Regions from separate parts of the Homo sapiens genome. Here region 1 is linked to region 2. Evidence: promoter capture Hi-C in human tissues and cell types (Jung and others, 2019). All regions are on one chromosome and are shown on one strand. Each heading gives the region's core, a stretch centred on a gene start or on the middle of the fragment in contact. The rest is flanking DNA. Distances are from core to core; before and after follow the strand shown.

What was found. Contacts are between HindIII fragments. The study calls those that stand out against the background at their distance.
Region 1: a fragment that was not itself captured here is called in contact with the fragment with the promoter of METTL24 in region 2 in 2 of the 25 tissues and cell types used here (aorta and dorsolateral prefrontal cortex).

What each region holds. Positions count from the first base shown.
Region 1 is chr6:110,056,230-110,059,055 of GRCh38, reverse strand. No RefSeq gene overlaps it. Among named protein-coding and RNA genes, the nearest start is that of GPR6, 79 kb to the right of the region's middle. The HindIII fragment of the contact is 6,154 bases long and covers 1-2,826 here.
Region 2 is chr6:110,356,534-110,359,693 of GRCh38, reverse strand. It overlaps METTL24 (methyltransferase like 24), which reads left to right and starts at 1,345. Exons shown (of 5, transcript NM_001123364.3): 1 at 1,345-1,739. The coding sequence starts at 1,422. The HindIII fragment of the contact is 11,777 bases long and covers 1-3,160 here.

The DNA.
Region 1 (2,826 bases), core at 235-2,734, 300 kb after region 2:
GATCAAGCAGACAAAAAAAAAAAAAAAGAACAGAGATATCAAAGACCTACCAATGAAATGAAACAAGCAAAGATTTCAAGTACACATGGAACATTGACAAAAATATCTATCAGGCAATAAACTAAAAAACATATGCAGAAGTCAGTAAGAAAAATAGAGCTAAACAATCTCTTATGTTTGGAAACAGAACAACATACTAAATAGCCTTTCAGTGAAAATCATAAATTTTAAAAATATTAGAACTATATCAAAATTGTGGTATCCAGCTGAAAATTTCAGGAAAATTTAGGTTTTTAAAAATTTTTTGTATTTCTTTTTGAGACAGAGTCTCACTCTGTTGCCTAGGCTGGAGTGCCATGCCATGAACATAACTCACTGCAGCCTGGAACTTCTGAGCTCAAGAGATCCTCCTGCCTCAGCCTCCCAAGTAGCTGGGACTACAAGGCACACAACACAATGCCTGGCTAATTAAGAATTTAGTATTAAATACATTTATTAGGAAACACAATATGTTAATGATAAATGAAGTCAGCAATTAATGGAAAAATCACAAAAGAGCAACAAAGCAAAGAAAAAAGAAGGAAACCATTATAGGGCAGAAATAAATAAAATAGTGCACAACAAAATCAACTGAAAGGATTGGCCCAATTTTTTTTGAAGTATTAAAAAGAGATCTATAAAAAAAGGATTAAGAAAAAAATAAGACATAAATGAAAATACAGAATGGGAAGAAGGAGATCACAACACAAAGATGAGAAGAGCATAGAAGAGCACAGATACCCATCTGCCATTAGATTTGAAAGCCTAGCTAGATGAAAGAAAGAAATTCATAGAAAAATATGAGATGCTAAAATTGGTACAGGAAATAAAACTTGAACTAGGTCAGTAGAATTAAACAAATTGAAGTCAAAAGCCTACCTTCCAAACAAAAATCACAGGCTCAGTCAGTCTCCCAGGCGAATTTTACCAAACTTCAAATGGTGTGACACGTATTAAAAAGATGTCAATTATTATCCAAATCAAGCTGCATATCAAATGCAACTTTAATCAAAACTCCAGCTAGATTGTTTTTTGAGGCACTTGGTTAAATTAATTTATATAAAGACATAAAGATTTGTGACTAATCAACCTTAAAAAAGAGTGTAAAGATGGGGAGGGGGCTAATCCTACTAGATGGTGACATGCTGTGAAACCATAATTAATCTTTTAAGTGTAGTTTTGGAGTAAGAACAGACAAGTTGGTCAATGGAGAAGAATGGAGAGGTCAGGGACAAACACAGATATATGTGGAAATGAATGAAGGACAGAGGCGTTGCCACAAATCAATAGGGAAAGGACAGATTGTGTAGTAAAAATGTTATTAGGAAATCTGGCTCACTATATAGAAAAAAATAAAACTGGGTCCCTACTCTGTACCACATCGCTGGCATACTGGAAATAGACTAGAAACCAAAATGTTTTCTAGATAAAATTATAAAGTTAATCCAAGTAAATACAAGAGGTATCTTTATGACCCAGAAGCAGGGAAAGACTTTTTAAACAAAATTTCAAAAGCACAAATCACATTGCAAAACAACAACAAACAACATAACAACCAGCAAACAAACGAACTGAATTAAATCAAGATTAAACATTCCTGTTCAATAAAAAACACTAGGGACAAAGTTAAGATGGACAGATGACAGAATAGGAGAAAATATTTGCGATGTCTAAACTAGACCTGGGATTAATATTTAGGTTATACAAGAACTTCCTGCAACTAAAAAATAAAAAGAAGTTCCAATAGAAAAATGAGTAAAGTATAGGGACAGGCAATGTACAGCCACCCCAGAAGCTAATTATATAACACTACATAATACATATGAGGAGATGCTAAAAAATAACTAATTAGACAATGCAAATTAAAATGTGAGAAATTAATTTATACCAGTTAGCCTGGCAAAAATATGAAGTTGGATAATGCCAGTTTTTTATAAGAATGTGGGAACCAATATGCACTGATAGAGGGAAGGAGTGGCTGGTTCAGTCTTTCTGGAGAGAGCAATCTTGTCCCATTTAAAAAAGTGTAGTATATGCAACCCTATGCCCATCGAGTCTCTCCTGCATATTTATCCCGAAGAAACTCTCACCAGATCTACAAGGAGATTGCTCAGTACAGTTTGTTTGTTGGAGTAAGGAGTTGGAAATGAAGTTGGTGCCCCTCACGAGGAGAGCAGAGGTGACACGTGATGGGCACACAGGATGGGTTATTTTGCAGCAGTCATTCCCAGCCAAGTTACTATGAGATGGCAGCTTGGATGGATCTTGAAGACAGAATGCTCAATGAAAAATGTAACAAAGAGGCCGAGCACAGTGGCTCACATCTGTAATCTCAGCACTTTGGGAAGCTGAGGCAGGTGGATTGCTTGAGACCAGGAGTTCTAGACCAGCCTGGGCAACATGTTGAAGCCCTGTTGCTACAAAATACAAAAAAAAAAAAAAAAAAAAAAAGAGTGTGGTGGCACACTCCTATAGTCCCAGCTACTCAGGAGGCTGAGGTGGGAGGATGGCTTGAGGCTGCAGTGAGCAGTGATTGTGCCACTGCACTCCAGGCTGGGTGGCAGAGCAAGACCCTGTCCCCCCCCCAAAAAAAAAAAAAAAAAAAGAAAAGAAAAGAAAAGAAAAAATGTAAGAAAGAAAGCGAGCCACAGAATACAATACCACTCACATAAATAAAGTACAAGTATACAAAATAACAACATACATTTTATAGGAACACTGAAAAGCAAAATACACATACATAATCTGATGTAATATTTGCCTATGTGAAAGTGATAGGAAAAGAAT
Region 2 (3,160 bases), core at 96-2,595:
ACTTGTTTAAATTTGTTAAAATAGAACCCATCTGCAATATCCCCTGGACTCATCTAAGAAAAAAGCAAAAGTCAATCCTAATGGAACGTTCAGGAGCCTGAGGATCTGGTGTGGCCAGGGGGTGGACTAGACTGGGTGGAGATATTTTGTTACATGTAGAGAAACAGCCCAAGTGCTTTGTTCACTAGCAGGGAATAAATTGGGTCTTTCTTAAGCCAGGAAGAGAAGAGGATTTTAGAGACGAGGGCTTCCTACGGAAAATACCCAACATTCAAAAGGGCAGGGGGGTAGGGCCCCATATTTGTTCTCTCTTGTCCATGCTGTAGGCTGTTACGGGGGAAGAGGATAGGTCTACAGGCGCAGTCTCCCATGGAAGCATGGAAAATGCAAGAGTAAAGCAAGGAAAAAAAGAAAAGTGACTACAGCTTAAAAAAATCTAAACCCAAACTCAAACCTAAAACCCAAACCCACCCCAAATGGGTTGTGGGAAAGGATTCTACTAACAATTGAAAATGGAACATCCACCACTGGACTTCAGGCTGTGAGAGTTCAGTCTGATTAATTAAGGTCAAGGTGGTGATGGAAATACCAGCTGGGGAGCATTTTGCCGAAAGATAAATTTGTCCCTCTGTATTTCTGCGAGACAGCAGGGAGGTGTGTGTTTGGAGCTAAATTAATTTGATTTACATCATGCCATGGTAACTTCTGTTCTCTCTCCCCCCTCCTCACCAACCCGCTGTCAGATGTCTTAGCTGGCTTTTTCCCTCTTCTTCTTCACCCCCACACATTTCATAACACGGAAAGAAAGCACGAATTGGCTTCAGGCAGAATTTAGACATAGAATAACTCTAATTTGATTATTCTGCATTGAGTGCTATTCTCTTCGCCCCCCAATCCCTTTCTTTCTTGAGAGAGAGAGAGAAGTTGTAAGCCCGGGCATAAGTGCTATTTATTTTTATATTGTGCTTAATGGTGCAAACTGCTTGACTGTTCCTTGTATGCTCACCTACCCTCCTCCTGTGTTTCTCCAACAACACTAATACCAGAAAATGAAGTTATGGCCCGGGATCCCGTTAGGAATGCGCTTTTTCTGGCCCTATGTCTTTCAGCTCCGTCAGGCTTTGGAGGCCGGGGCGGAGGGCACCTCTTGAGGGACCCTGTACAGCCGGGCCCTGGCACCTCCGGAGGGGCGGAGAGGGCCCCCTGTGACCGCGTTCGGCCCACCACCGTTCCAGCGGCGGGGCGCGCTCGGCAGGGCAGGATAAGGTTACGCCGGGGCTTCCTCGGTCGGGAGGGAGGGAGGCGGGTCCGAGCCCGCACCCCGGCCCGCGGGGGAGTTCCCACAGTTGGCCGCTCCGGCCTGTGGGGCTACATCCCTGCTGCCGGCCAGGCGCGGCCCGCGGGACCCCGAGTGTAGCGCCATGGCCCGGGAGAGGCCGCCCGGGAGGGGCTGCGGCGTCCTGCGCCGGTGTCTACTCGGGGCTGTGCTGTTGTTCGGCCTGCGGCTCTGCGCAGAGCTGCGGCGCGCCGGGCCCGGGTCCCCCACCCGCAGCGCCCCGCCGGGCCCGGCCTGGCGGCCACCTGGGCCGCACCTGCCGCCCGCGCCGGGCCAGCCGCGCGGCGCCAGCAGGAGGCAGGTGACCTACGTGCGCAGCGGTCGCCGGGCGCCGCCGGGGGGCGGCGGGAGCGGGACGCCGGAGCCTGGCTGCTGTGCCCCGCGCGGGCGCCCCCGCCGGAAGGTCAGTTGCAAAGCGGTCGGTCTTGGGCCTGGGACCAGAAGCCCCCTCCCGACCGCGCTACGGAGCCCGGCGCTCAGGTCCCGCAGGCCGCCTCGATGGGACCTCCGGAGGCTTCCGCTTCTTCTCTTCCCCCTGTGCTCTCTTAGGCGGCTCCACGGGTCGCATCTTTCAGTGCCCAGATAGACTGAAGTGCGGCCAAGCGGAGTTCATTCACTATTCAGCCAGTACTTGGGGGTCGCCGTGGCCGGGCGCCCTTCTAGGCTCCGCGCATCCCGTGAAGAAGGACGGAGCCCTGTTCTCACGGAGGATACACTTTAGTAGGGGAGTGTTTGCGTGATAGGCAGGGAAAGGGAAAGGGAAAGGAAGGCGTTGTGGCTGCCATTGATGTGCTGTGCTGCTCCCAGCCTTCTGCTTAAGGCCTGGACAGAGTTGGGTGGGTATCGCCGTGAATGGCCTGTCCACGCCACTGCCTTCATCTCGCTGAAGATCCACCAGCTGGCCGAATTTCCCTGGAGTCTCATTCCAGGCGTTGGCTGGGGGCTGGGAGGCTGGCGCCAGTTGAGAAGCCGAGCACCCAGCCCCACTTAATGAGAAGTTAATTGGATCCTCGAGGACCCAAGTAATAACCTGGGTTTGTCTTATAACTCTCGACCGTGTTGTGCCTCCTACCTCATTAACTTCTTGGCTTACACCTCACTGATTAGTCCATTTTTAGCCTCTGATTGTTAAGGTTTTGGGCTCATCTCCTTTTTGGAGCTCGGTAATTTGCGTCGTACATGGAAATGAAAAGAACTACAGGTATGAGCTCTCCTCATCCTTTTACCCATCAACTCCTGCTTCCAGCCTCAACCACGTTCTCCAAAGCAACTACTTTCCGTTGCCCGGCTGTTCCTCGTTTCTTTTAGACATCCACCCCAACCTCCACCCCGCTTCCCATCACCGGTCCTGGAGGGGAGGGAACAACTCTTCCTTTGCCTCGCTGCTGTCTTCGGCTGCCCAGTGCTAGCCTACTTTTCAGCACCACAACCCAGCACTCCTGCCGGGCTTCACTTCCTCGCTTCCTTCGGGCCTCGCCCTCCGTTTTTCCACACCACTGCTGTTCCTTGCTGGGCCATCGTGCTAACTTCCTGGATAAACTGAAATACCTTTTTCTATCTCGCAAACCTCACCTCCTGTGTAAAGTCTTGATTAGATCTTCCAGAAGAAAGCAGCCACTTCCTCTCCAAGTTCCTAATTCACTGTCCGTGATACCATGTTAAACATTCAGCACAGTTTTGCCAAGGGCTTACCAGGTAGGCATCTGGTGCTGGAGGCACAAAACGAGTTCAGATTCTCGTGGGGGAGGCTCTTAGCACAGGCATCCGGTGATTTCCAATCCTGTAATTGAGGCCTTCAGCTCTGCCTGGGGAGTCAAGAAAGGC